Regions from separate parts of the Homo sapiens genome. Here all the other regions are linked to region 1. The links are contacts of gene promoters, found by promoter capture Hi-C in blood cells and fetal thymus (Javierre and others, 2016). All regions are on one chromosome and are shown on one strand. Each heading gives the region's core, a stretch centred on a gene start or on the middle of the fragment in contact. The rest is flanking DNA. Distances are from core to core; before and after follow the strand shown. Region 1 holds the start of ZNF582 (zinc finger protein 582). Region 2 holds the start of ZNF544 (zinc finger protein 544). Region 3 holds the start of ZNF134 (zinc finger protein 134). Region 4 holds the start of ZNF550 (zinc finger protein 550). Region 5 holds the start of VN1R1 (vomeronasal 1 receptor 1).

Region 1 (5,826 bases), core at 1,282-3,781:
TGGAACATAACACAAGCATTTTTCTTCATGGGAAAAACCATGGAGATAACTTTTATTGAGTGCACAATTTTCTATCAAGTGAAACAACTGACTCAAACATCCTCTTATTTTGGATCCCGAGGTTGGATCAGATCTCTAAGGCTTTTCCAAGCCCTGACCACTCACCCACCTAGATGATCATCTCACTTGCTACATCGCTCACCATCCTCAGCTCTGTACTTTTCTTCCTCTTAAGCTAAAGAAACTAATGGAGGATGTCCCAGATTCAAATGCTCTGTCCAACGTCAAACTAGACTTTAATTCTGGCATCAAATTTTTGATGGATTCCCAGCCAAACCTCAATTACATATCCAATCATTAATCATTCCCAAAGCAGGACACTGTACCATGCGCTGAAACTGAAACCAACCAACACCACCTCCCCTGCTTTTCTATATGTGATTGCTCCTAAGCATTCATTCCATCTCTTCAAACTTCAGTTCTTACAAAGGATGCTCTCATTTCATACAGGGAAATGAGTTTCTCCTCCTAGCAGACGAAAACCATCAGGAGATGCAGAATGCTATAGAGAATAAATCTGTGGGCATTTGTCAGAGGGGAGAGGACAATGGGAGAGGAGACTCCTGCCTGGTCCTTTTATTCCCTAAAATGGGAAAGTCTGAGAACCAAATTTCTGGATGGAACCCAGGTGGAAAGTTTCAAGATAAGGAAAGCAAATATTTATGGGATTTAAAAACTCACAAGGGACATGACTTTTAGAATTTCAAGGGCTGATAGGTCCTCCTTCTGGTTCCTCTCTTGGGGAAGGGCAGAGTCCTGCGACGGTAGAGCTGGGGGAGGAAAGAGCAAACATGAGAGGCTAGGCTTGCCTCACAGTTCCTAGAATGCCAAGTTACAAGTCCCCACCTGCTTGCCCTCTGCCCACCAAGAAAATGAGAAGGAGGGGGAGGCAAAGGGATCCTCACCCAACCCCAGGAAACCAGCTTTAGCTGCTGCAAGGCAAAGGGGAACCAGTGGTCCTTTCCCTCCCATTTCCCCTAAACATCCAGTGGTTCTGTTTTGCTGCAAATGCAAGTCTAAGACAGGGATGCTGAGGGCTGTTCTAGTGACTGAGACCCACATGTTACCTCAAGGACAAGGAGGGCTTCCCTCAAGCCAGGGAGCATAGAAGGCCTGCATCATTTGCATAGCCCCAGCCTAGAATAAAGCCTTTCCAGGACTAGGCCATTTAACTCTCTCCTGCAGCAAATATAACACCTTTGAAAGTCTACCTGGCTCTTTTCCCAACCGCCAAATATACAAAAAGCTCTACAGCCCAAACTGAGGCTTTGTGCATGCCACTTCATGGAGCATGCCTTGCATCAACAAATGGGATAGAGTTGGAAGGAACAGTAAGAGACAAATTACACACAGCACGCCCAGTGCTCCATTATCAGCACATAAATGTGTCCTTCCATAGAGACACAGCAGTGCACAAAGCTGCATGTCCAATAATATTTGCTAAATAGGAGAACTGAAAATTAGTACGTAAGTAGGCAAGTCCACAAGTAGCCAAGAGGTTGAATCATTTTTGGCACAGCCATATAATGGGATGCCAAGTGACTATCAAAAATGACTATCAAAAACTGACAAGCAAAGATATTAACTACTGAATCCTTTGAGAACATTCAGCAAAAAGAAGTCAAACTCACTAACACACAGGCTAAAAACAAAACAAAACAAAAAAATTGGAAGAAAAAACACCCAAGTATTCGCAGTGTTGTCATTTAACCAGTTCTTGAGCTCACTGTTAAACAAGAAGTACTCTGTAAAGGAGTATATAAGGTGCCTACTGCATTACAAACATTTGGTTCTAAGTAACGTGTAAGTGAAATAATTATGAATGTTGCTTAATATGATGTAATAGGCAGCTTTTCCTTATTATGACCACTTTTATAAGCATTATTTGTATTAACTGCACGATATCCTATTTACAAAGGATGGCCTGTGATCCACTCAAGTGTTTCCCCATTGCTGGACATAGAATTTGAACATATAAAATGTTCCCAAGTATAAGTTTTTCTAAACTAGCGGTTCTAAGTCTTCTGGGGTCTTGTAACTCTCTGAGAACCTCATGAAACAAGATTTCCTCTCAGATTAAAAAAAAAAAAAGGCACGCATAACAGTGAATGCAAAACATCCGCAATTTCAGGGGGTCGGAGACCCCTGCGCACCCACCTAAGGGGTCCATGCACCTGGGCTATGAGGCTGGAAGCAGAAAGGGGGCGCCAGAAAGCGCACGCCGCGAGGGCCGGCGGGAAATGTAGTCTCACGCCGGTAAAGCCACAGAGCGACGATGAGGCGAGACGTCTGCGTTCTTCTCAGGCCTGAGACCCAACCGGCCCGGGCACCAGCTCCTGCTGGACCCCAGAGCGCCTGGAAAGCTCCGGAACCTCTCACCTGCCGCCTCCTCGGGTCCAAGTGCCACCGCGGCCGCGCCCCCGGCAGCCCAGGGCGCGCTTCCACCACGGTACCGGTGGATTCGCCGTGCGCAGCCGGAAGATGGCGCAGACGCACAAAGCACACCGATGCTGCGCCATGATAGGGCCGGCGCCGCAGTGTCTTCCGGGAAACATAGTCTTTAGGCGTAAAGGCAGCAGCCCGGCCTTGAAGCCGGATCTCGCGATGTTTCAGGGTGAGCCGGACGCAGGCGTGCCTGCGCAGTGCGCGGAGGAGTGCTGTTCGTGTGTTCGAGTCCCTGGGTTGCTTCCTGGGGTCTGTGGTGCTGGGTGTGCTATCTGCGTGTGATTCTCTAGCGAGAGATTGTGGGCGAGTGACCGAGTGGGCAAGGGGCCGTCACTGTGTGTGCGTGATTTTGACAGTGTGTGGTGGTAGCTTCTGACTCCGCGTGGGTCGTTGAATGTATGACTGGGACCGTTTAGCGGTGGATACACAACTGTGTGCGGCTGTGGAAGATTGCCTCATCCGTTACGTTCCCATTTCCGTGGAACAACAGTTTTACCAGAAGGTTTCGAAGGAACCTTAAAGTTTGGAAGCGTAAGAGTTTATCTGGTAACTAATTTTAAACATTACATCTATGGTGAGTTAAATGTGGGTTATGAAGGAGAACGCAAAATAAAAACGTTATAAAGATGTAAAGGAGTTTTATGGGGCGGCATCTCTTGGGCAAATATCAGACCGCCGTAGGTAGTTGTTAATTCTCTCTTGTTTTTAGGCGGCTTTGGTGTCATCAAATGTGAGAAGCCCTGGACTTTACACATCCCGAGCCAGTGTGATCCAGTATGATTGGGAGTCCGAGTGCCAGATGCCGGTCAGGACCTGTTATGCTGGGTCTCAGAATGCGGAAACTCTCCCTGTCCGAGGTGGAACAGTTTGTCCTTGAGTGAGGACTGGAGTCCTGAGTGACTCTTTTGATTTGATCCTGTTTCCCTCAAACCTGGTGAGCTCTATGGTGTAATAAATGGTTAAGAGTGTGAACCCTTAACCATCTCTAAGACTGGAGCCAGAATGCCTGAACTCCAGTCTTAGAGATGTGCCTCGGTCTCCACATTTGAAAGTGAGGATGATTGTGGCATCTAATTCATTGAGTTGTTGGGGAGGAGTAACTGATATGTAAAATAATGCTACTGCTGCTGGATAAGGATGCTAATATGACTGAAGCTAATGCTTTCTTTCTGCAAAGATGCTTTTTCCAAAACACACCATATTGCCTCTTTACACATTCTTCAGGAGAGGGTAGAGGCTGCATTTTCCTTGTAGGTGCGGTGATGTGGTGGAAAGCACACTTTTAGAATTAGACAGATGTGGATTCAAATAGCATTTCAGCCATTTATTAGTTTCTTCGTGCCTATCTCGGTTTTGTTTTGTTTTTTTTTTTTTGTCCATAAAAGGAAGAATGTAATGCTGGGCTTGCAGCTTTGTCCTGAGGGTCAAATAAAATGATTTAATAATATAAGCAAAGCTCAGAGGTTGGTTATTGCTGATTACTGATATTAAAAGACAACTTCAGCAAGGATGGTTGAATTTCACACTTGTGAGCGGACAGTTGAGGAGACAGTTGTAGATTTATCCTACTTGACCTTATTTGTGGTTCAAGACAGTGTTGCGAGTTCAAGAGGAGAGGGTAGATGCAAAAAGTCATCATCTTTCCTATGTTCTCTGATCTTGGGAAGGGGCGAGTGGCTCTAGTTTCCCTTTAACATCCCACTGTGTTGAGTGTGTCTATATGTACATGCGTCAGTATTTGCTTATGGAGGAAAGGAAGGAAAAAGACCAAACAGGTACAAAGCCAGCCATCTCTCAGGCTAACTTTCTTCTATACCATTTTTACTTTCTCACATTCATTAATCTGCCAAAGAGAAATTTAGAGGATGATGAAATGGCCACTTCTGACTCTGAACCAAGCCTCTGAAGTCATACACCATTATACTCTTGGTCACAAAATCAGCTGTGAGTCTAAGTAGGTGGAGGCTACACAAGAGTATAAGTACTAGGAGGCAGGGATCATTCAGGGTCGTCTTAGAGGGTGGCTTCCAGTTTCTTCCTTTTAAGAGTATGAGAATGCTCTGAGCTAGCCTCTCCATTCCATGGAATCCATAGGTCTTTTGTCAGCCACTTCCCAGTACACATTCCTGTGCCAAAGCACATGCAGAGTTTGTAGGGTCCAGCCCCACAGGGTCGGTTGGTTTCTCCCCGTGTGCGGAGACGAGAGATTGTAGAAATAAAGACGCAAGACAGAGATAAAAGAAAAGACAGCTGGGCCCAGGGGACCACTACCACCAAGACGCGGAGACTGGTAGTGGCCCCGAATGCCAGGCTGCGCTGATATTTATTGGATACAAGACAAAGGGGCAGGATAAGGAGTGTGAGCCATCTCCAATGATAGGTAAGGCCACATGGGTCACATGTCCACTGGACAGGGGGCCCTTTCCTGCCTGGCAGCCGAGGCAGAGAGAGAGAGGAGAAAGAGAGAGAGAGCTTACACCATTATTTCTACTTATTAGAGACTTAGTACTTTCACTGGTTTGCTACTGCTAACTAAACGGCAGAGCCAGGTGTACAGGATGGAACATGAAGGTGGACTAGGAGCGTGACCACTGAAGCACAGCATCACAGGGAGACGGTTAGGCCTCCGGATAACTGCAGGTGGGCCTGAGGCCCTCCACAAGTGGTGGAGGAGTAGAGTCTTCTCTAAACTCCCCCGGGGAAAGGGAGACTCCCTTTCCCGGTCCGCTACGTAGCAGGTGTTTTTCCTTGACACTAACACTACTGCTAGACCACGGTCCGCTTGGCAACGGGCATCTTCCCAGATGCTGGCATCACCGCTAGACCAAGGAGCCCTCTGGTGGCCCTGTCTGGGCATAACAGAAGGCTCGCACTCTTGTCTTCTGGTCACTTCTCACTATGTCTCCTCAGCTCCTATCTCTATATGGCCTGGCTTTTCCCAGGTTATGATTATAGAGTGAGGATTATTATAATTTGGAATAAAGAGTAATTGCTACCAACTAATGATTAATGATATTCATATATAATCATATCTAAGATCTATATCTGGTATAACTATTCTTGTTTTATATTTTATTATACTGGAACAGCTCGTGTCCTCGGTCTCTTGCCTTGGCACCTGGGTGGCTTGCCGCCCACAGAGTTACTCCAGCAGCTCCCTCTCCTGTTATCCCCAGCCATATCCGTGCTTCTGCCAGATTCCTTCTGTTTCAGGATCACCCATTATCACTTGAATGAGATCAACTGTGGGGAGGTGGGCCATATTCTGTTGTGCATAGTAATCCAAGCAAGGAATCACACAACAAAGTGGGTTCTAACCCA
Region 2 (5,826 bases), core at 2,484-4,983, 1.8 Mb after region 1:
CTTATTGAACAGCAAATAACTCATTCTGGAGAGAAGCCTATAAATGTAGTCAACGTGGAAAAACTTTCAGACAGAATTATTATTGTGTATGCACCAAAAAATTCATATGGGCAAAAGCCAACATGAATGTCTAAATGTGAAAAAGCCTTCAGGAGACTATCTGACCTTATGGAACACCAGATCATTCATAATAGAGAGAAACTGTATGCATATAATCAGTGCAGAAAGGCCTTTCAGGCAGCATTCTAATCATGTCAGGCACCAGATAACTCATTCTTGAGTCAAACTGTTAATGAACTTTTTATTTATTTTATTTTATTTTTGAGATGGAGTCTCGCTCTGTTGCCCAGGCTGGAGTGCAGTGGCGTGATCTCGGCTCACTGCAAGCTCCGCCTCCTGGGTTCACGTCATTCTCCTGCCTCAGCCTCCCAAGTAGCTGGGACTACAGGTGCCCGCCACCATGCCCGGCTAATTTTTTGTATTTTTTTTTTGAGATGGAGTCTCCCTGTTGCCCAGGCTGGAGTGTGGTGACACAATCTCAGCTCACTGCAACCTCCACCTCCCGGGTTCAAGCTATTCTCCTGCCTCAGCCTCCCGAGTAGCAGGGATTACAGACACACACCACCATGCCCAGCTAATTTTTTTGTATTTTTAGTAGAGACGGGGTTTCACCATGATGGCCAAGCTGGTTTTGAACTCCTGACCTCAAGTGATCCGCCCGCCTCGGCCTCCCAAAGTGCTAGGATTACAGGCGTGAGCCACCGTGCCCGGCCTAATTTTTTGTATTTTTTAGTGGCGACGGGGTTTCACCATGTTAGCCAGGATGGTCTCGATCTTCTGACCTCGTGATCCACCTGCCTTGGCCTCCCAAAGTGCTGGGATTACAGGCGTGAGCGACCGCACCTGGCCAATGAACTTTTTAAATTGAGACAGGGTTTCACTCTGTCATCCAGGCTGGAGTATAGTGGCAAGATCATCACTCCCTGCAGCCTCAACCTCTTGGTCTCAAGTGATCTTCCAACCTCAGCCTCCCAAAGTTCTGGGGTTACAGGTGTGAGGCATTGTGCCCAGCCATAACTTTTAAAAGATTTTCTTCCCTTTTATTTAGACATCAAGGTAAAAGTAACTTTTTTTTTTTTTTTTTTTGAGTCAGAGGCAGGCTGGAGGAGTGCAGTGGCACCATCTCGGCTCACTGCAACCTCCACCTCCTGGGCTCAAGCCATTCTCCTGTCTCAGCCTCCTGAGTAGCTGGGATTACAGGTGCCCACCACCACACCTGGCTAGTTTTTGTATTTTTAGTAGAGACAGGGTTTCGCCATGTTGGCCAGGCTGACCTTGCACTCATGACCTCAGGTGATTCACCTGTCTCAGCCTCCCAAAGTGCTGGAATTACAGGCATAAGCCACTGTGCCCAGCCAAAGGTAACATTTTTAATGTAACAATATATGGTCATTCTTTGCTCTTATGACACAATCCTACAAAAGGCGATCACTAAGCTTAAGCACTAAGCCTAAAACTGAATAATATAAACACTGATGTAGGGAAAGTTGTTCCTCAGACGACTCCATTATTGATACAGACATGGAAACAGTAAACAGAAATGTAACATCAAAGTTCTTATTTACTTGAACTTTTTTTTTTTTTGAGACGGAGTCTCCCTCTGTTGCCCAGGCTAGAGTGCAGTGGCGTGATCTTGGCTCACTGCAAGCTCCGCCTCCTGGGTTCAGGGCCATTCTCCTGCCTCAGCCTCCCAAGGAGCTGGGACTACAGGCTCCCGCCACCACGCCCGGCTAATTTTTTGTATTTTTTGTAGAGACGGGGTTTCACCATGTTAACCAGGATGGTCTCGATCTCCTGACTTCGTGATCGGCCTGCCTCAGCCTCCCAAAGTGCTGGGATTACAGGCGTGAGCCACCACTCCTGGCCTGAAATTTTCTATAATAAAAACAAACAAGATCATTTATTATCTCATAATGAAAAGTCCCTGAGGTGAGCATAGGCAATGTTGATTCAGTGGCACAAAGAGGATTCATTCCATCATGGATACTGGTTCTTTCCATTTTTCTGCTGTGCCATTCTCAGCATGTTGCCTTTACCTCCTGGGGTGGCTTCCTCATGGTGCCAGTGTGCTTGTAATTGTCCTACACATCACATACAGACATCACGGTCCAGGGGCAAAAGAAGACACATTGCTATCTTATGTCCACTTTTAAGACTGAGGGAACCGGCCGGGAGCGGTGGCTCATGCCTGTAATGCCAGCACTTTGGGAGGCCGAGGCGGGTGGATCATGAGGTCAGGAGATCGAGACCATCCTGGCTAACAGGGAGAAACACCGTCTCTACTAAAAAAGAAAAATTACAAAAAATTAGCCGGGCGTGGTGGCGGGCGCCTGTAGTCCCAGCTACTCGGGAGGCTGAGGCAGGAGAAAGGCGTGAACCCGGAAGGCGGAGAGTGCCGTGGGCCTAGATCGTACCACTGCACTCCAGCCTGGTGGACAGAGCGAGACTCCGTCTCACAAAAAAAAAAAAAAAAAAAAAAAAAAAAAAAGACTGAGGGAACCTTCCCAGGAAACCCCTAGCAGCCTTATTTCTCCTTGGCCAGAATATCCTTGCCTAATTCACACAGCAAGAAGCTTGAGTCCATTCTGATTAGCTTAGAATCCATCAAGATCCTCCCTTAGGGAGTTAGATTCTAGATTTCCCGGAAGAATCTAAAAATTGCAGGGTCGTGCTAGCCAGGTATGAAAATAAGCAAGTAAAAAGATGATGACTGTTGGGTAAAGCTATCGACAAGGTCAGCTACAAAACAGTCAAGCCAAGGAAGGCTAGTCACAGATGCACCCCAGACACAAAAGCACAGTCCAGGAGCTGAGGGTGCCTGAGCCACAGTGGTTCCCGCCTACCTGGCCTTCGTAGGAAAGTTTCCTGTGGTCTCCCTCATTGAAGAGCCAGGACGGGTCAGGCGGTGGTGGGTCTCAGACATTGAGCCCCACAACGCACTGAGACTGAACATCAGACCATTTATAATAACAGAACTCTGTCCCACAACTTCTGCAGCAATAGGTACAAAACAGAACTTGGTCACTGCCAGCCTCCCTATTTTTTTCCCTGTCCCACTTAGGAGCTACCACAGAAAGCCAAATAGGCTCGACTGAGCGATCACCTAGGACGAATCGCCTCCAGTTAGCGTGCTTCCACCTTCCACTCGGAATGCTCCAAGCAGGGCACTCCCGGGGCTTTGTTTCTATCACTAGGACGCGTCCCCACGCCCAGGCTGTCCCTGAGTCCCTGCCACAGGCGCAGATGTTGGCGGGCGCCCTTGCCCCTGAGCTCCCGGTTAACGGCCTTGGACTGTTCTCATGGCTCAGTCTTGGTCTCTCTCCCCAGCAGGGCAAGGCGCCGGGAAGGCACCCGAGATGACAGCGCCGAGCCCCATAGGCGCTAGTCCCGCCCTGGACGCCGACCGCCGCCTCCACAGTCTCGGCTTCGGTTGCTGGATGAGAACCAGCGTGGCCCGTTTAAGGGGGAGGGGACAGGCGCTGCAAGGAGCAGAGCCGCGGGAAGCAACTCCCTAAGCCACAATGCTAGTCGCGAACACAGGAAAAAGCTCATCCCGCCGCCGCGGGGCCCCATGCTCCCGCCGGCAATGACTATGCCTGTGGGAGCAACGGCTACCGGCGCGCGGCCTTCTGGGAGTTGTTTGTTGCGCGGAGCGCGGGCACGTCCGCCGGCCACCGGAAGCACCGCCATTGGCCGGTGCGTGCAGGTGAGTCTGGCGGCCTCAAGGTTGGCTCGGAGGTTTCACTGTTAGCCGGGTGCGGCCGGAGCGCAGGACCAGGCCAGAGCCGCCCCAAGTGATCTGGGCGTGCCGGAGAAACGAGCAGGGCCTGCGGGGGTCCCTCATGCGGCGAGGCCGAGCAAGGGCAGGGGCCTGATGGGATCGGGATCTCTCCGGCCTCAGGGACGGGGAAGGCCGGTCCAGTCAGGTTTCCCCTGCAGGAGCGCCCGGCTGGGTCTGAGCTTGTCGGGAGGCTCTCCTGCTGCAGAGCTGGGAGGGAACTTATAGTACCTCGCAGGTACGGGCAGGGGTGGAACTGGGTGGGACTGGGTGGGACTGGGTGGGACTGGGTGGGACTGGGTGGGCCCTCCCGACAGAGGGTGCCTGGGTCGAGGGCTGCAGGGGCGGGGGATTCAGGCTGGCGTCTGGAGCTCTGGGGCTGCCGACCCAGCGGGCCTCTCCCGGCTCCTTTTTCCTCCCTCAACTCATCTTCTGCGGCTTATCCACAGGTGGCAGCCAAGAGCCTCCTGGCACAGCGGCACCAGGCAGGTGACGCCTATTGGACCCCAGAGGTCATCCCAGCTCCAGACGTGGACACATTTTCTTCCAATGGTACGTGAAGCTTGAACCTTGCAGAGAACATGTGTATTTTCCAAGTGAACAGAAGATTAAGGCCAGTCCACGCAGGGCAGGGGTAACTGGGGTGTTGGGGGCCTGCACTGGTTAAGCGATGCTGGTGCACCCCATAGAGAGACTACAGAGGTGAACAGGATGGGATGTGTATGTAACGCCTGTAAGTTAGGGATCGGGGTTCCATTTGTGTTGGGTGATATTTGATGGGGACCGTACAAGGCAGTGCTAATGAGGAAGGCATGGGGTTGGATTTCAAGAGTCTAAGGGAGTAGGGAAACATCTGATTGTGGAAATGACTCCGTGTAAGGAGGGATGCCAAAAGACAGGAAGGAGTGGAGGAAGACTGTGTTTCTGTTTCCAGCGTGGAGCCAGGGTAGAAGTCACAGTGCAAGGAAGATGTGGTATGCCTGGTCAGTCTCTGCATGGGAGTTGAGGAGCATGTGGGTGACATGGCTGAATGTGGAGGAGGGAATGGCAGTGGCAGGAAGCCCAGGAGGTTTGGGCTGGACACGTAACCTGGAGCAGATTGGAAACGTCACCCCACAAGCAGGGAAGGAGAAAACTGGAAAAGGAAAGAGAAAGCAACTCCCTCCCCAGCCCTGCAGCCAGAGGGACTTCTGCCAGATCAGCCACCATACAGGTCCAGTATGAGGAACAGATGGGGAATTTTATGTCCAAGTATAATCACTATGAATACATGTGTTGTGCCCCTTTTGCAGGTTAACACAATGTTAAGCTCTGTAAATGCAACTCAATTAATTCTTTTAGCATCCTCACAAGGCAGGTCTTGCTGTTTTTCCAGATGTCTACGGATGAGGAAACTGAGGCCTGGAGAGGTTAAAGAGACCCGTTCAGAGTCCTACAGTGGCAGGTAATGGAGCCAGTACTTTGACAGCAGGTTGCAAAGTGAGTGTTCTCAGCCGTTGCCCTTGGATGCCTCCAGACAAGGAAGGACAGGGTTAGAGAGCAAAGATGGACACAGGCAGTGAGAGATTCCCCAGGGAAGGCCAGGAGCATCAGGACAAGATAGTAACACATAAGATATTGGGCAGACCTCTTGGATGTGGTCTACATTTGTGTTTGTGTGTGTGTTTGGGAGTGAGAGAGCAGAGCAGGATGGGCAAGATGAGGAGGGGGAAACTGAGAGTGTTGGTCACTCTGTTCAGGCCTCACCTGAGAGGAGAAGAGGCAGGGGGTGGGGCACTGGGATATGGATTCATCTTGACCAGGGAGAAGACATCTCAGCTCAGAATTTGAAGGGAGCTACTAATGAGTGCAGGCCTGCAGGAGTTTGTGTGCCAGGAGGTTGAAAGAGTCCAGAGTCATCCCTTGGAGTGAATTAAAAGGCCGATTTGTCTGCACAGAGAGGACAGTGGTGGGAGGGGACTGAAGTAGGGTGTGAGAGCATGAGCTCG
Region 3 (5,826 bases), core at 1,508-4,007, 1.2 Mb after region 1:
CAGTTTGTTTACTGAAGTCATACATATACTCATTTGGGGTGATCTTCCCTTAACAAGTCATGCACCCCCAGAGGAAGGTCAAATACCAGTCAAATTTTGCCATCTTGCCCCATTTTGTGCATGCTCGAAACCTTATCAGGGGTTGTGGTTCACTGGCTCCAGGTGTTTTCTATCTGTTGGAAAACTCTTTTCCCTCCTGGTACCAATCATGGCCACTTATCATCTCAGAGGGATAGTTTTATGCTTTCCTGTCCTTCACCCAATGAGAGCTGGACATCTCGGGGGTCCCTCTCTTGTTTTGTTTATTATCTCAGAGGAAAAGATTTATGATTGCCTGTCCTTGACTCCAAAATTGCCTGACATTCCTGGGGTCCCTCTCTCCTGCCCTACTCTTATCTACCTACTCTAACACCAGGGTGAGGGTATGAGGCAACTAGAGACCACCCCTGTAAATCGAAGCCAACCAGAATTATTCAGACTAGCCAGTACTCAGCTGTTTGCTCTGATCTGGCCTAGGCTTTCCCCTAGCTCTTGCTTCTTCCTTTAGACTGAAACCTGTTCCTCCTGTGGCCCTGCATGGCATACTGTACTTCCCATTTCTAGGGAAATTCTGAGTAACATTAAACTTTTATTTCACTGGCATTGAGCTCTCCATGTCCTTTTCCAATAAAGACCCATCCACAAATTGGCCTCTCTTGGCTATGTAATATTACATATCTTTCCAGCACTTCTCAATGCCTTCACCTTCTCTTTTCTCCATTATGCCTGCCACATTCTAACATTCCATATAATTTAGCATTTTTTTCATATTTCCTCCTCTTTCTTGAGTACAGCGTAAGCTATTGGGGTCTGTCTCTTGTTTTGTAAATGTCCCATGCAGTTAAGATAGTGTCTGAAATACAGTAGGTGTTCCTTGAATATTTCTTAGAACTATGAATAAGCATAATACTACAGCATCCCTGTTCACCTTAATATTCTGATAGCACTTTCTAAATGTTTTCTTTACTTCTCCTTCCAGGTATTATTGAGTGTTTTCAAGAATGAAAAGAGGCCTGGCATGGTGGCTCACATCTGTAATCCCAACTTTTTGGGAGGCTGAGGTGGGAGGATCCCTTGAGCCCAAGAGTTTGAGGCTGCAGCAAGCTATGATCGTGCCACTACACTCCAGCCTGTGCAACACAGTGAGATCCTGTCTCCAAAATTAAATAAATAAATAAAATTACATTTTGGAGACTAAACGCTGCTTGTAGTCATAGTTCTAACACAGCTGTGTGCTCAGCTTCATTTGCTCACTTCTCAGAATTCAATGTCTCCTGCTCAAATTTTGCTGTCATCTTAACCGTTTTCACTTATCACAGATATGTTTCTCCAGGTCCATTTCGTCATGTATCTGTGAATAACTACAGAATTATTAACTTTGAGTAATTTGGCCGGGCGCGGGGGCTCTCCTGTAATCCCAGCACTTTGGGAGGCTGAGGCGGGCAGATCACGAGGTCAGGAGATCGAGACCATCCTGGCTAACACGGTGAAACCCCATCTCTACTAAAAATACAAAAAGTTAGCCGGGCATGGTGGCAGGCGCCTGTAATCCCAGCTACTCCGGAGGCTGAGGCAGGAGAATAGTGTGAACCTGGGAGGCGGAGCCTGCAGTGAGCTATGGTCGCACCACTGCACTCCAGCCTGGGCGACTGAGCAAGACTCCGTCTCAAAAAAAAAAAACACAAAACAACTTTTGAGTAATTTAAACAATTCACAAATGTTTTTGTCTTTCTTTCCCCATACACTCGCCCTTTTCTTTTTTAAAACCATAAATAAATCTCAATTCTCAATTCAGACACTGTCGGTGTAATTGCAGGTGAAATGAGAATCACCTCCCAGCCAAGAAATCTGATCCCAATTTTCCAAATCTTTATTTCTGGGTTCAGACACCACATTTTCAGCCCCTGTCTTGGCATATAAAAGCATTTATAATGGTTCTTCTTTTCAGATAAGAAACATCACCAAAAGGAAATAGATATATCTCAACTTTTGGGCTAGGAACTCTCATTTGGATAAAAGAATATTTCTCCTTTGGTTGGACATTAGTGACCATACAGGCAGGAAAGGTGCCTTCCTTGACCACCTTCTCTCGCCTGTCTTCCTCCTCATGGTTCTCTCAGGTATTTTTTTTCTGAGGAAACCAGAGGAAGAGCTCTATATTAGTCCACTTGCCTCAGGGAGCTCCAGCATCCCTCCATAGCCACTGTCTGGAGACCATTCTTCCACTCCATGGCCCTGCCTGGGGACAATTCTCTGTTAACTCTGACCCAACTGAGGCTCACAAAACTGACTCAAAGCTTCCCTCTACAGTACACATATTTTTTAAATGAAGGAAATTTGACTGAACTATGAGTGGACTCAGAGTGACATTGGATGTTGTGTGTCCATTTGGTGGTGTGGCTTCAGGGAACATCTGTAAGAATATATCCCAATATTTCGGGGATCCCTGCAGACCTCACTACACAAGACCTGGTTGAGGGTCCTTTAAAAGGAGCGAAGCCACGCCCTGACCTCAGAGTCTCAGGGCATAATTTCTCAGCGCCCCTCGCAGTACCATTTGGCCTTTGCCCAGCGTGCAGGGGAGTTAGCCGTCACCACGGCCAAGTGCACATGAGAACTGCATTGCCCAGAAACCTGTGCGCCGCCCGGCGGCGGCACTCTTAGGGGCGTCTCCCTGCGGACGGAAGCTCTCTGGGCGGGACTTCCGGTATCTTCCTCGCGGTGGACATCTTGTCGGCTCTTAGGTGGAACCATCGGAGCAGAAGCTCGGGGTTGCTGGGCGGTTCCGAGGTGACGGAAGCGGGAGGGTGCGGGAGAAGTCGCTGTTCGCTCTGCGGAGTGGCTCGCCAGCGAAGACCCCGCCTGCGCCCCCGGGGACGGACGACCGCGGTGCCAGGGTCCCGCGACCTGGGACCCCCTCGCGGCTCCGGGTGGTCTACGAACTGTGATGGCGGCGGCCGCGGTGATGGGCCCGGCGCAGGTGGGTGCTGCCTTTCCCAGACTTTCGCCCGCCCCAAATCCTGAAGTTCCAAATGAGGAGCGCCTGTCTGAGTCCCTGCAGCGCAGGCCCCAGTGTCCAAGGCAGCGGGGCGCTGGTGGGTGGGGGCGAGTGTGACTGGCAGAGGGGCAGCCTGAGCATAGGTTTGGAGCTGGACTGAGCCCGTAGCAGTCGGGAGCGTGTGTGAACCGTAGTCAGGCCTGCAATGTCGAGGGGAGAAGTTGCTCCTTCATTGCGAGGACGATAGGAGCCATGGCGGGTTTTGAATGGTGGAGGGAAGGGATCCGAAAAAGGATTTTTAAAGTATTCCAATGTTTGCTGAGGAGGAAACCGACTACAGTGAGGTAGAAACGATGAGGATGGAGGCAAGGAGACGTTTGAGGAGGTCCCTGCAACAAACTCCAGAAGTGTTGCGGTGGTGGCTGGGCCAGAGCAGTGGCAGGAGGGGTTGGGTGGGGAAGTCATGAGATTCTGGGTAGATTTTTAAAGATGGAACCAATGGGGTTTCCTGCCGCATCAGATGTGGTCGTGAGTGAATGTAGGGAGGAAAGGGCTATCCAGGGTTTTTTTGGCCTGTTTTCCTTCCTGAACGTGTGAAAGAATGGAAATTGGTAAGTCACAGCAGGGAGCACGTTTCAGGGGCATCAGGAATTGGGTTTTGGACTTGGTGAATCTAAGGTGTTCTGCACTGGAGGTTCATCACGGGTAGCTGAACATGCAGGTCTGGGGTTCTAGAGAGGGAGTTGTGCTAGAGACTTCAATGGGTGAGGCATAAGGTCAAAGCCTGTAGTAGATCAGATTTAGAGGGTGGAATTTCAAGGAAGTTATTTTGTGTGGTCTCTGAAGTGAGAGGTGGGTTTAGGGTGGAAGGCCAGGGATGAAGGGGTGGACACTTAAGATTCCTTCCAGAAAGGAGGGGTCCTGGCATGTGAAAGCATTCTAGATGGTGTTGTTGGAAGTCAATGCTTGGTGCTGCAAAGTGAAACCAGCACTCAGGCAAAAGTTTTCTCAGCAAGGCAATTTACTTCTGTGCAAGTGTGCTGCCTGTGTTAATCACGATCCCAAGAGCACACTGAACAAAGGAGGGAAGGGGTTTTTATCTCTAACCCATAGTCCCTACCTTCCTCTGTGTCACTCCCCCATGGGCTGGGGTCGGACCGCTTAATCTAAGCTGAGCCAATTGGGTATTTGTGAGTATTTTCCAAATAAGGAAGAGGGAAGGGGAAGGTGAGTTACAGTGGTGGGACATGTGAGTTGTGTAGGACGTGTGGTTTTGGCGGGGGCAATGGGTGCAAAGTGAGTAAGGGAACAGATGTGAATTATTGGTTAGTGCTTACAGGAAGGTTGTTTATAGTAACTAGGGGCAAGGAGGCATGGAGAACAAGAAAGGTTTGAGAACAAAGAACAAGGAAGTTAACAGGCTAAACCTTTGAAGAGGAATTTTATTATATCTTATAGTGTCAGCAAGAGGAGAGGGCTGTAGAGCATAAGTAGCCTGGCCTGCACTGGAGACCAAGGTGAGGGATGCAGTAGGTTTGCCACCCTACAGGCTCAGCATGCCTTCATGGGCGCTGCCTGTGGAGCAGTCCCATCCCCAACCAGTGCATTGGTGCCTCAGTTACCCAAACCCTCAGGTAAGCAGAATTGATGAACATCTCTAATGAAGGATCACTGCAGCTCCCCTTCAGAGGAATATGTATCAGGTAGGCTGGTTTAGTGCAAGGGCTAGTGTACACCTTGCAAGTACGCAGAAGGAACTAAAAAATGTATGTACAAAGTAAGGGAAATTTATACTAGCACTTAATGATTGGTCAAAATATTAAGTTGCCTTGAAGTATTTTATTACAATGGAAAAATCTTAACCAAATTTTCTTAAAAGCTTTAAAGCAGGCAAAACAAACCTAATTTTTCAAAAACTCATCAGTTCATTTGCATGGATAGTAGTAGCTGTTTCAAAGGCACTTGAGATGTACAGACAAGCCTGATACAAACAGTAGCCCTATGAGGTGGGTGCCATTATTATCCCCACTTTTAAGATGAGGACACTCAGACGCTGGTCTTTATGTTCACACAGCTGGTGGGAGCCAGCACTGAGATCTGAGTATCTGAAGTTAGAGAGGTAACCCAAAATCATTCCTGCCAAAGGGCAGGGTAGGCAGGGCTTAGGGAAACAGTTCAGTCGATGAGATCCCACTGTGGGAACCTGCCACTCCCAGCTTCCCTCCTCTTGTGAGGTTGCCATGGTGGCAGAAACTTATGATTCCTACCTAGATGAGAGTAGATTGTCTCAGGCCCTCACTTAGCCCAACACACCCCCATTATCTCAGCAACTCAGTGTGGAGAATGATAGTGTTCTGGGACTCTTCAGTGTCCCTTCTGCCTACCGTTCTTGGAGGTCCTGCAGTCACCCAAAGCTCTGTGTTGTAAATTCTGTTTTGGAATTATGTGGAAGGGTTTCTATTTCTGGCAAGCAATGGGATGAAATGTGGAACATTATCTCAGGCATAGGAACCAGCATGTGCAAATACTTAACTTAAGGCTAAACTAGGAGTGTTCAGGGAACCTCAGGCCTCCATTATGTCTGGTGGGATCAGACAGCAGGGACAGGATTCAGCCCAGAAATGGCAGCCTGAGGATCTGGGTTTGTATGCTGAGAGAATTGGGAGCCACTGCAGGTTTGGAGCTAGGAGGGAGTGATCTGACTTTGGTCTTAACCAACTTCCTCTGTACAGTGAAAAAAGACTGTGGGAGTGAGGATGAAGGAAGGAATACCACTGAGGAGCTTAATG
Region 4 (5,826 bases), core at 2,156-4,655, 1.2 Mb after region 1:
TGAATCAACTAGGTCTCCTTTGGGCTGACTTCCGTGCAGGGCTCAAAGGGGAGGCAGATACTGCCTTTTGACAATGCAATTGTGCCTGAGAGAAAAGCCTTCTATGGGGAAGCTGTTGAAGATGACACAAACAATGGCAATCCCACGAGGACTATGGGAAGCAGAGAGTAAGTACTCTGGCATATTAAAAGAATGGAGGAAAATGACTGATACTAATCCAACCACAATAACAGCAACAGCAGCAGCTAAGTGTGGGGGAAAGAAAAATAGATCAGACCGTTACTGTGTCTATGTAGAAAAAGGAAGACATAAGAAACTCCATTTTGATCTGTACTAAGAAAAATTCTTCTGCCTTGAGATGCTGTTAATCTGTAACCCTAGCCCCAACCCTGTGCTCACAGAAACATGTGCTGTATTGACTCAAGGTTTAATGGAGTTAGGGCTGTGCAGGATGTGCCTTGGTAAACATGTGTTTGCAGGCAGTATGCTTGGTAAAAGTCATCGCCATTCTCCCGTCTCGGGTACCCAGGGACACAATGCACTGCGGAAGGCCACAGGGACCTCTGCCCGAGAAAGCCTGGGTATTGTCCAAGGTTTCCCCCCACTGAGACAGCCTGAGATGTGGCCTCGTGGGAAGGGAAAGACCTTACCTTCCCTCAGCCCGACACCCATAAAGGGTCTGTGCTGACGAGGATTCATGAAAGAGGAAGGCCTCTTTGCAGTTGAGATAAGAGGAAGGCATCTGTCTCCTGCTTGTCCCTGGGAATGGAATGTCTTGGTGTAAAACCCGAGCGTACATTCTATTTACTGAGATAGGAGAAAGCCGCCTTATGGCTGGAGGTAAGACATGCTGGCGGCAATACTGCTCTTTACTGCACTGAGATGTTTGGGTAAAGTCAAACATAAATCTGGCCTACGTGCACATCGAGGCACAGCACCTTTCCTTAAACTTATTTATGACACAGAGTCCTTTGCTCACATGTTTTCCTGCTGACCCTCTCCCCACTCATTACCCTATAGTCCTGCCACATCCCCCTCATGGAGATGGTAGAGATAGTGATCAATAAATACTGAGAGAACTCAGAGACTGGTGCTGGTGTGGGTCCTCCATATGCTGAGTGCCAGTCCCCTGGGCCCACTTTTCTTCCTCTATACTTTGTCTCTGTGTCTTATTTCTTTTCTCAGTCTCTCATCTCCACCTTGCAAGAAATACCCACAGGTGTAGAGGGGCAGGCACCCTTCACTAAGTCCTCTGGTCCTCACTGTGTCCCTGCCAGGCTAAGGCTTCCTTAGCCGTGGTAAAGCAAATAAAGGCCTGACTTAAATCAGGCCTCCTGAATCTGACACTTGCCAGCTATGTGACTATGACGATGTCACATGATCTCTCTAAGGCTCGATTTCCGAATCAACACAATAACTATTCCCATCTCAGCAGGCAGCTCTAAGAACTAAACAGAAAATGTTCACTTAGGCAATCAGTGGAGTGCCTAGCACATGTAAGTGCCTGATGTGTTTGGGAACTTTATTAATCCCCTGACAGGCCCAGAGGTAAATGTCGTTATCACTTCCATTTCACAGTCAGCAAAGGCTCAGGGAGCTTTAGAAATCAGGCACAGCCTCACATTTAAAAAGCAAAAGCAGCATTTGAGCACCGCTAAAACACCTCACCAAGCTGCCAGAGAGCAGGCAGGTGGGAGTGAGGGGTGCTTTTAGCTACAGCCAGCACTGCCAGGATGGGTGTGGAACTGCAGCCCCGCAGAGACCTGAGAACAATGTCTCAGACAAAGGGAAGTGCAAGGGCAAAGGCTGAAAATGGGAAAGAGCTTGGCAAGCTCAGGATTCCCTGGATGAATGCAGTGAGAAAGGGGACAATGGAAGAGGAGAAAGAAGATGCGGTCAAAAGGGCAAACCAAGTACAGCCTTGCAGACCATGCTGGTAGGAGGGGGTGGATTTATTGGAAATGTGATGAGAGTCCCTATAAGAGAGGCCTATTCAATCATCAACCATTTATTAAGTACAATAAATGTACTTAAGCCTGGCTGTTCTGGGTCTTGGGAGAGGGAAGCAACAGGCACTCACATTCCAGGGTTGGAAAAAGATCCTAAACAGGCAACTAAATAAATGAGTAAGGCAATGTCAGATGGCCTTAAAGATTCAGATGACAAGAAAACAGAGCAAGGAGACCAAAGAGACTCTGGTCAGCTTTAAACGGTGCAACAGACGAGACCTCTTTAAGCAGCGGACACCAGAGGGAGTCAGAAATAAAGCAAAGGAGGGAGAGGTGGATGAGAAATTAACAACTACGACAGGAGCTGACAGTAATCTGGGCTATCATGAAAGTAATCAGAGTGACTGCTAGAGAGTAACCCTGGGCCTCATGTGTTATCTCCAAAGGGACACTACATCCTGCATACCATCGCCACTGAACATTTTAATGGACTCGTTTTTCACCTGTAACTAAATGTCTTAAACAGGAAAATATACTGTTAGTTGCAACCCAGCGTCCCTTGCCCTAAACTGAAAGACAAATTCCTCAGCCTGCCCTACCACCTTTTCTGCCCTGGCATAGCAGCAACCGCAGAAACGCTCCTCCCACCTCTTTCAGCCGCTGCCCTTCGTGTTGTAGAGACAGGAGGCCAAGGAGGCCAGAGGGTCAGACTCCTGCTGGGGTTGAGTCTCCAAACCTAGCACAGGCCCAGGGAGCAGCTCCGGAAACAACATCCTGAGCGACGTCCCCGGACCGTGCTGTGCACTGAGACGGACACACACACATCACCCAGGGAGCCGTTCAAGCTTCCTCAACCCCGGGGGGGGGAAGAGTAAATATTTCTACTTTGCGCGCGCAAAAATGAAGGACGAGGACAGTAACGGGACTTGTTCAAGGTCGCAGGCCCGAGAAAGGACATGGTTGGAAGAGCCACGAGGAGGACTGCGGTCGCTCCTCTCACCTGTGAGGGGTTCCGGGACCCTAAAAGCCCTATTTCATACCACAACGCCGCGCACCCCAGAAACGGGGACGCTCCCCACGCCACCGCGGGCCTGCATTCCGGACCCGGGACCGCGCGACCCCCTTCTAGGCCTCTAAGAAGCAACGGCAGGGACTGCACTGAGGACGACCCTGAAACGCCGTCCTTCCGCTCGTCGGGCCCGGGACACTGAGGCCGGGTGGCCGCGGGGAGCCGAGCCAGTCTGCTCACCTGCGCTGCGTCCTTCGTCTCCGCCATCCGACCGTTGGCAGGACGAGGCCGCGTGGGGCAGCTCCCACGGGCTCAAAACCCTACCCCGGGTCCTACAACGGTGCGGAGGTGAGCCCCAGTCGCCCTACCATCCTTCCCAGCACAGTTCTGAGAGCGCGGACCAACACGCCCCACCACAAACGTCCACGCCAGCGAGGCCGGAAGTCCCGCCCCTGTGTCGCGGTCGCCTGCCACGCCTTTTCCTGCGCCGGCCCACTGCCTTCTAGGTAATGTAGTCTTGTCCCGTAAGAGGCCAGGCTTGGCTCTTTTTCCTTTTTTATTATGCACACCATGTTTCTGTATATCTCAGATGATCTTAGCGGAGCAAGTGTACACACTGGATTGTAAATTTTTAAAACTTCCTATTATTCGGATGCCTCAACGTCCCTACAAGCAGGCTGTGAGCACTCGCCCAGGCACCCAGGTAAACGAGTTTGATAAAGGGGGCCCTGCCACGAGGTTCCCCGCTTGCCTCCTCTGAGTGACCCAGTGACATTCCCATGTACCAGTAAAATCTTACGCCTGGTTACTGCGTCCTCCTCCACCCTGACGCCAGGCACTGTCCCTGGGACTGGCGTGGATCTGGACCCCCGCTTCCCGCGTGGAGCCATTCCCGGGACATGCTCGTGGGGTTCCGTCTGTGGGACGTCTGCCTCCTCTGTGTGGACTGGTGTTGCCCAGGGCTCAGGAAGGTCTCCAGGGGCCGTGAGTCCCCGCCCGCTTCCGGAGTCCAGCTTCGTGACACCATCGTGAGAAAGAATGCAGGGATGAGTCAAAATGAAGCCAAAGGCAAGAAGCTTTTATTGGGAAGAAAAAGTACACATTTTTGAGAAGAGTGTACTTTTCCCAAGAGAAGAGGGAAATGCGGACGTACGAGGGAGAGCGGGTCATGCACAATGGAGTTTGGGTTTCTAATTTTATGGGCTCTTCTAATTAGGGGGTGGGATAATCATGAGGTTTTTCTAGGAAAAGGTGGGAATTTCTTAGAATTGGGGTGCCAACCATTTTTATACTAAATGTGGGCGTGCTTGGATTGGCCTGGCACTGGTGGGTGTGTGATTTAATGTGGCAATGAGTGTATAATTAGGTCTGGGGTAGGAAATGGGTCAAATCTAGCGTCATGGGACAGCCTAGCCCCAATCCTGTTTGTTAAGGTCTCATCAGCCCAGTCTTCTTGTTGGAGTAGCTAATTTTAACAGCTTGATGTTTTCCCCCTTCTCCTGTGACCACACAGCATTCCTATTTTGTGGGTGTTTCTTTAATTAGAGAGTGGAATAATTATTAGGTATTCTGGAAAAGGAGGGAAATTCAGGGACCCACCTGGTTACTGCCCCCTTTCTCTCTTATTTGGCTTTGCCCAGAAGAGTCATGGACATGTCATCCTGACTGGGATTTTGGCCATTCTTTCTCTTATTTTGGGTTTTCTGTTATCCTATGGTTTCTTTGCCTAGTTCTTGTTTTTATTTGTTGTTCGAATTTTTCCATCCTCCTGCAACCACCCAGTGCTATTCCTATATCACTGTGAGTATAAACACCCTTTAACCTTATAGGCTTCTTGAAGTATAATTCCCAAGACCATGTTGCAGTGGTCCTTAAAGAACCAATAAGGCAGAGAGAAACAAACATGTTCCAAATTTTGTTCTCAGGAGTAAACCTTACTCAATTGTTAAAGGCTGTAGCTAGCTCAAAAGAAGTTTCCTTGACTCTGAAAAACAAAACAAGGATCAGCAATGTTCCAAGCAAAAGTCAAAAAGATTATTTCAGTTTTTCTATTAGTTCAGCCTATTCTGTTAACTCTTGTTCTGCTTGATATTTATAAACATTTTAGCTTTTCATGAGTCCTGTATGTTTTTCAGTTATCAGAAACCTGCATTTAGGAATACCTGTTAAAGTATTCCTACATCTGATTATGAACCATATTTTGAAGAGGATTAAAACAAGACAACAATTGTCTGTAAATGACAAAATGTCCAGGGTGGTTAGTCAAAAACATGATTGACAAAAAAAATTTGGTTATCTCCGTGGTTTACAATAACAACATAACAACCTTAATTGTGGTTGATAGTGTATACTTTCACATTAGAGTTTTCTAAATCCCATGCAGTTTTGGAACACATATTAATAGTATTTGCTGAAATATAACCTGAAGAAGATTAGACATCATTTTGGCAATCCCATGTAACAAAACATGTCAAATAATCCTGCTTGCCTCTTTTCTGGATGCCCCAGGGACCCTCTGTAGCATCCAAAACGTAGGTGTCAAGAAAGACAATTGATTTGTGGAAGCCTGTTAAATATGTTAACAGGCTTAAAATATTTGATGTTATGTACTAGAATTCCAGATTACTATAAGTTATTTATTTTGCCAAAATGATGACTCAAAAATTTGAAAAAGCAAAAACCTTTCATTAGCCTTTACTATTACATGAAAATTGTGTTCAAGAGAGAGAAAGCCAAATTTCACCCTTACATTAGTGTACTATTAATGTCAACCACAATTTTTAATGAAACAATTATAGGCAATTCTATCCAATCTTAACCAGTTTGACAATGAGGTGAGATTTTCACAAACCTTTTATAACCCTTTAC
Region 5 (5,826 bases), core at 989-3,488, 1.1 Mb after region 1:
GGTTTTTGCCATGTTGGCCAGGCTGGTCTCGAACTCCTGGCCTCAAGTCATCTTGAGTGGATCACTTGAGGCATTTGGGAGTGCCTCAGCCTCCCAAAACGGTGGGATTACAGGCGTGAGCCACTGTGCCCGGCCTGCACATGTCTTTCTTACATGTGGACTCTCCAGGGGATTTATGCTGTTCAAGAAGCACCTGAATCAAACTGTGCTTTAAAAATATTTTTAAAACATTCCATGATTCTTCATAGTACAAAAATGAGAAATCTCCCCTAAATCTCTAAAGAATTCCCTTTTTAAACTTTTTGATTTCCTGAACTTGTCTGAAGGACTTAACACAGTTATATAGAGTGTTCTTTGTGTAACAGTATCCATGACTTTCATTTTTAGCTCTGGTATTAGATCTTCCTGGACAAGAGCATTACTGGCCATGTGTATGTTGCTATCACAAATAACTAGTAGTTAATATTTCCTAAATCTTAGCAAGAGTTATGATAAATAGCTGAATTCCATGAAGAGAAAAGACTCATGGCATGACAACCAGATTAGGAAAGAGTGTTTTCCTTGTCCTGCAGGCAAAACAGAACTGAGAGATATGAGTATCACTCATGATGAGGACAAAAGGGCTGCGTGCTGGGAAACATGAGGCGACCAACACAGAGTTGGTCACTATCCACTGGCCTGGGTTTGCAACTACAGTTGTCCAAATTGTCAGAAAACTATGGACTGAATAGAAAACAAAAAAGGAGCTCACCAGGACCATGATGGTGTGTGTGGCTCTGGCTTCCTGGGAAGGTCTGCAGGAGAGTCTGTTGCTGTGATTGTGTTGGACTTGCTGCTTGTGTCTGTAGAGGAAGAAGACCATGGAGCCACTGGCCCAGACCATGAAGCCCAAACTCATAAAATCAGGGGAAAAATATAAGACTGCATGTAATGAGCTAAATCTCTTTGATGCTTTGTAAGAACAGTATCCATAATTGTTTTTTGCACTACTGTTTTTGCTATTCAGTGGGCCATTCACTAATAGAAGAACAGATGCATTCATCAAGACATGGGGGGCCCAGCAGAGGAGACAACAGAAGTCAATAAACCTTGGGGATCTAATCTTGATCTCCATCCACCTGCATATACTGGGGTTGAGCTTAATGGCTTGGAATCCATTGAGAAGGCAGATGGTGCTGAGGGAAACTCTTGTGCCCACCCTGTGATAATAAAAGACAAACTTACATCCAGTGTCATTCAGCAAATATTTCAATCCAAAAGCTGCCATTGTCTGAGGTATCCCTTTAAAGAAAAGGACCATGGAGTTAGCCAAGGCCAGTTGGCTGAGAATCAAGTCCGTGGGTCTCAGCTTGTGTCCAGTGAACAAAATTAAGTTATAAAAACAAAGGAGAAAGGAATTTCCCAGGATCCCAACTCCAGTCTGAATGAGGAAGCTAATCCCTGATTTTACTTTTCCAAAAGCCATTTCATCAAAATCTAGGGGATGTTGATTTTCATTGAGGTCTGAAGAATCAGTAGAATAAAAAAGCAGAAAGAAGTATCTTGTCATCAGTGGAGACAGAAGTTTTAATGTGTCTCCAACCATATTTTCTCATCTTAAACAGAAATTAAGATTGTCCCTGTTCGTGCAAAGGCAATTGCTTGTGTGTCCAACTGCAGAGAAGCAGGTGAATGAATGAGGGCTCAACCGCACAACAGATCCACAAATCAAACCTATAAAACTCAGGGCTTACACACATGCAACAAGTAAATACAAGCAAAACTAGGGAAATATATAAAAACAGAACACAGAAGAGTCAATATCATTAGAGTGATATTATACTATAGTTTGCAAAATGTAATCATGACGGAACCCTGGGTAATATGGACAGGGCTTTTTCTGTATTATTTCTTATGACTGCTTGTGAGTCTACACTTATTTCAATAAAACCTTCAATTAAGTAGCCTGGAGATATGAAAAGCAAAAATAATACACCATAAAACCTTTTCCACACTAATATTTTAGTAAACACCATTGTTATTGATGCATTGAAACAAATTTTAGGCCGGGTGCAGTGGCTCACACCTGTAATTCCAGCACTTCGGGAGGCCAAGATGGAGACCATCCTGGCCAACATGGTGAAACCCTGTCTCTACTAATAATACAAAATACTAATAATACAAAAATTAGCCGGGCATGGCGGCGCGTGCTAGTCCCAGCTACTCGGGAGGCTGAGGCAGGAGAATCGCTTGAACCTGGGAGGCAGAGGTTGCAGTGAGCTGAAATCAAACCATTGCCCTCCAGCCTGGGCGACAGAGCGAGACTCTGTCTCAAAAAAAAAAAAAAAAGAAATTAAAAAAACGCTACAATACAATTGGTAACAAGGCCTTCAGCACAGTACAAATGCTAACTTGAAGAATTTTTAAAAACTATAATTTTTGGAACAATCAACATTGCATCATGGTATATTTTATTTTAAGCACATATATTTCTGTTATTTTCCACCGGACAGGTCTAGAGATTGTGAATTGACTCCGTAGAAATAACCATGACCACCTTGAGCCCACACATTTTTATCTCAATGCCATTTCTCACAAGTAAATGCAAAAGATCCTGAAAATAAATACTAATCCCAGAAACACCTAAGATATCCTTAAAACTTGTTAAATAGGAAATTCAATATGTTCCAGAAAGCTTGGGTTTATTTTTAGGGAAAGATAATTCAATTGGGAGGGAATTTCATTGCACAATATTCATATATATCAATCACAAAAGAAATAGTAACTGCGGCCAGGCACGGTGGCTCACGCTTGTAATCTCAGCACTTTGGGAGGCTGAGGCGGGTGGATTACAAGGTCAGGAGATGGAGACCATCCTGGCCAACATGGTGAAACCCCGTCTCTACTAAAAATACAAAAATTAGCTGGGTGTTGTGGTGCGTGCCTGTAGTCCCAGCTACTCGGGAGGCTGAAGCCTCCTGGGTTCACGCCATTCTCCTGCCTCAGCCTCCTGAGTAGCTGGGACTACAGGCGCCCACCACCACGCCCGGCTAGTGTGTGTGTGTGTGTGTGTGTGTGTGTGTGTGTGTTTAGTAGAGACGGGGTTGCACCGTGTTAGCCAGGATGGTCTCGATCTCCTGACCTCGTGATCCGCCCGCCTCGGCCTCCCAAAGTGCTGGGATTACAGGGATGAGCCACCTCGCCCGGCCATAATTTAGATTCTTTTGGTGTCTCTATGGAATTGCTATCATCAGGGAAAATTATGAGGTATTTTCTCCCATGAATAACTACATCTCTTTAGGGGTGGAGCAATCAATAACACAGCAGTATCAAGATTCTCAGGCGAGAGGTGGCTCACGCCTGTAATCCCAGCAGTTTGGGAGGCCGAGGCTGGTGGATCAGCTGAGGTCGGGAGTTCGAGACCAGCCTGACCAACAGGGAGAAACCCCGTCTCTACTAAAAATACAAAAATTAGTCAGAGGTGGTGGCGCATGCCTGTAATCCCAGCTACTCGGGAGGCTGAGGCAGGAGAATCGTTTGAACCCCAGAGGCGGAGGTTGCAGTGAGCCGAGATCATGCCATTGCACTCCAGCCTGAGCAACAAGAGTGAAACTCGGTCTCAAAAAAAAAAAAAAAAAACTCAGGCTCTGAGGTATGAAAACCTTTTAGATTCCCACAAACCACTTGTTGACAAATGTTTTTCCTATTTATATGAACTCATCATTTATTTTCAAGATAGTTCCTGATTCTTTGCTTTAATCTCTTATTTTGCTCCATTGTCCTAGTTGTATAATTTATTTCCAATATGCATTTGGTTTCCTATTTTTTCAGCTTCTCCTTATAAAGTACCATTTTTACTATGACTATTTTGAAAGCTTCTTGTATGTATAAAGTTAGTGTGATTATTGACTTTAACATACCACCTCCTTCTCCTCCTAGCCTCAGAAAGAAGTGTTGGTAACTGGTGAGAATTTTCAGACAGATTTTCCTTTTTTTTTTTAATTTAATTTAATTTTTTTTTCTTTCTTTGCTTTCTTTTTTTTTTTTTTTTGAGACAGAGTCTCACTCTGTTGCCCAGGCTAGAGTGCAGTGGCGCTATCTCGGCTCACTGCAAACTCCACCTCCCACGTTCAAGCGATTCACCTGCCTCAGCCTCCTGAGTATCTGGGATTACAGGCGCCTGCCACTGCGCCTGGCTAAATTTTTTTTGTATTTTTAGTAGAGATGGGGTTTCACCATGTTGGCCCGGCTGGTCTCGAATTCCTGACCTCGTGATCCACCCACCTTGGCCTCCCAAAGTGCTGGGATTACAGGCGTGAGCCACCGCGCCAATTTAATTTAATTTTTTAAAGTTCCAGGATACAGGTGCCGGATGTGTAGGTTTGTTACATAGGTAAACGTGTGCCATGGTGGTTTGCTGCACCTATCAACCCGTCACCTAGGTATTAAGCTCAGCATGCGTTAGCTATTTATCCTGATGTGCTCCATCCCCCGACCCCTTTGACATATTCCAGTGTGTGTTGTTCCCCTCCCTGTCTCCATGTGTTCTCATCGCTCAACTCTCACTTATAAGTGAGAACATTTGGTGTTTGGTTTTCTGTTTCTGTGTTAGTTTTCTGAGGATAATGGCTTCCAGCTCCATCCATATCCCTGCAAAGGACGTGATCTCATTCTTTTTATGGCTGCATAGTATTCCATGGTGTATATGTACCACATTTTCTTTATCACTGATGGGCATTTGGGTTGATTCCATTTCTTTGCTATTGTGAATAGTGCTGCAATGAACATATACATGCATGTATCCTTATAACAGAATGATAATAATAGAATGATTTATATTCCTTTGGATATATACACAGTAATGGGATTGCTGGGTCAAATGGTATTTCTGGTTTTAGGTCTTTGAGGAATTGCTACACTGTCTTCCACAATGGTTGAACTAATTTACCTTCCCACCAACAGTGGAAAAGCATTCCTATTTCTCCACCACCTTGCCAGCATCTGTTGTTTCTTGACGTTTTAATAACAGCCCACTGAACAGCAAAAACCTTAGTGTGAAAAACAATTATGGAGTCTGCTCCTGGGCAATGCAAGAAATATTTGGCACCTTATATACAATTATATACTTTTCTCCTGACTTTTTGAGTTTTGGCTTCTTGGTGTGGGTCAGTGGCTCCATAGTCTTTGTCCTATACAGACACAAGCAGCAAGTCCAACACATTTGTAGCAAGAGACTCTCCTCAAATCAGTATAAGTAAAATTAGGAAAATATTAAGATGATAGTGAGGGCCGGGTGTGGTGGCTCATGCCTGTAATCTCAGCACTTTGGGAGGCCGATGCAGGCGGATCACGAGGTCAGGAGATAGAGACCATCCTGGCTAACACGGTGAAACCCCGTCTCTACTAAAAATACAAAAAATTAGCCGGACATTGTGGCGGGCACCTGTAGTCCCAGCTACTCGGGAGGCTGAGGCAGGAGAATGGCATGAACCCAGGAGGTGGAGCTTGCAGTGAGCCGAGATCGCGCCACTGCACTCCAGCCTGGGCGACAGAGTGAGACTCCATCTCAAAAAAAAAAAAAAAAGATGATAGTGAATATATCAAAATCAATATCATCATTGTGATATTATACTGTAATTGCCAAATGTAACCATGGGTGGAAACTGGGCCATGTGTAGAGGCTCTCTGAGTTATTTTTTAAACTGCTTGTGAGTCTAAAATTAAATTAAAATTATTGTTAATAAAATGGTCAGTAAAAATGCTCAGGAATATGTAAGGCAAAAATAAGGCATTATAAAACCTTGTCCGTCATTATGTTTTAATACACATCTCCTCACATACTTATCA

The links. The method cuts DNA at HindIII sites, captures the fragments that hold promoters and counts their contacts. A CHiCAGO score of 5 or more calls a contact.
Region 2: the fragment with the promoter of ZNF544 here is called in contact with the fragment with the promoter of ZNF582 in region 1 in 1 of 17 cell types (total CD4 T cells); the score reaches 5.1 in total CD4 T cells.
Region 3: a contact is called between the fragment with the promoter of ZNF134 here and the fragment with the promoter of ZNF582 in region 1, in 9 of 17 cell types (neutrophils, total CD8 T cells, naive CD4 T cells and 6 more). The highest score is 12.3, in neutrophils.
Region 4: a contact is called between the fragment with the promoter of ZNF550 here and the fragment with the promoter of ZNF582 in region 1, in 6 of 17 cell types (non-activated CD4 T cells, M0 macrophages, neutrophils and 3 more). The highest score is 15.2, in non-activated CD4 T cells.
Region 5: the fragment with the promoter of VN1R1 here is called in contact with the fragment with the promoter of ZNF582 in region 1 in 7 of 17 cell types (neutrophils, naive CD8 T cells, monocytes and 4 more); the score reaches 12.6 in neutrophils.

The regions. Positions count from the first base shown.
Region 1 is chr19:56,391,003-56,396,828 of GRCh38, forward strand. It overlaps ZNF582 (zinc finger protein 582), which reads right to left and starts at 2,532. Exons shown (of 5, transcript NM_001320371.4): 1 at 2,218-2,532; 2 at 742-830. The coding sequence starts at 750. It overlaps ZNF582-DT (ZNF582 divergent transcript), which reads left to right and starts at 2,674. Exons shown (of 2, transcript NR_037160.1): 1 at 2,674-3,051. The HindIII fragment of the contact is 9,401 bases long and covers 1-5,826 here.
Region 2 is chr19:58,225,181-58,231,006 of GRCh38, forward strand. ZNF544 (zinc finger protein 544) reads left to right here and starts at 3,734. Exons shown (of 7, transcript NM_014480.4): 1 at 3,734-3,766; 2 at 4,288-4,390; 3 at 5,214-5,282. It also overlaps the pseudogene LOC100419847. RefSeq lists an enhancer at 3,610-4,436. The HindIII fragment of the contact is 1,767 bases long and covers 2,632-4,398 here.
Region 3 is chr19:57,611,485-57,617,310 of GRCh38, forward strand. ZNF134 (zinc finger protein 134) reads left to right here and starts at 2,758. Exons shown (of 3, transcript NM_003435.5): 1 at 2,758-3,019. It also overlaps a transcript of ZNF530 not described here. RefSeq lists an enhancer at 2,653-2,832 and a silencer at 2,963-3,012. The HindIII fragment of the contact is 2,580 bases long and covers 2,335-4,914 here.
Region 4 is chr19:57,556,458-57,562,283 of GRCh38, forward strand. ZNF550 (zinc finger protein 550) reads right to left here and starts at 3,406. Exons shown (of 4, transcript NM_001397372.1): 1 at 3,199-3,406. The coding sequence starts at 3,225. It overlaps LOC124904781 (a long non-coding RNA gene), which reads left to right and starts at 3,485. Exons shown (of 2, transcript XR_007067357.1): 1 at 3,485-3,661. RefSeq lists enhancers at 2,448-2,527, 2,672-3,536, 2,978-3,027, 3,514-4,713, 3,658-3,767. The HindIII fragment of the contact is 1,240 bases long and covers 2,793-4,032 here.
Region 5 is chr19:57,454,902-57,460,727 of GRCh38, forward strand. VN1R1 (vomeronasal 1 receptor 1) reads right to left here and starts at 2,239. Exons shown (of 1, transcript NM_020633.4): 1 at 1-2,239. The coding sequence starts at 1,585. The coding sequence ends at 524. It also overlaps the pseudogene VN1R107P. The HindIII fragment of the contact is 5,648 bases long and covers 1-2,672 here.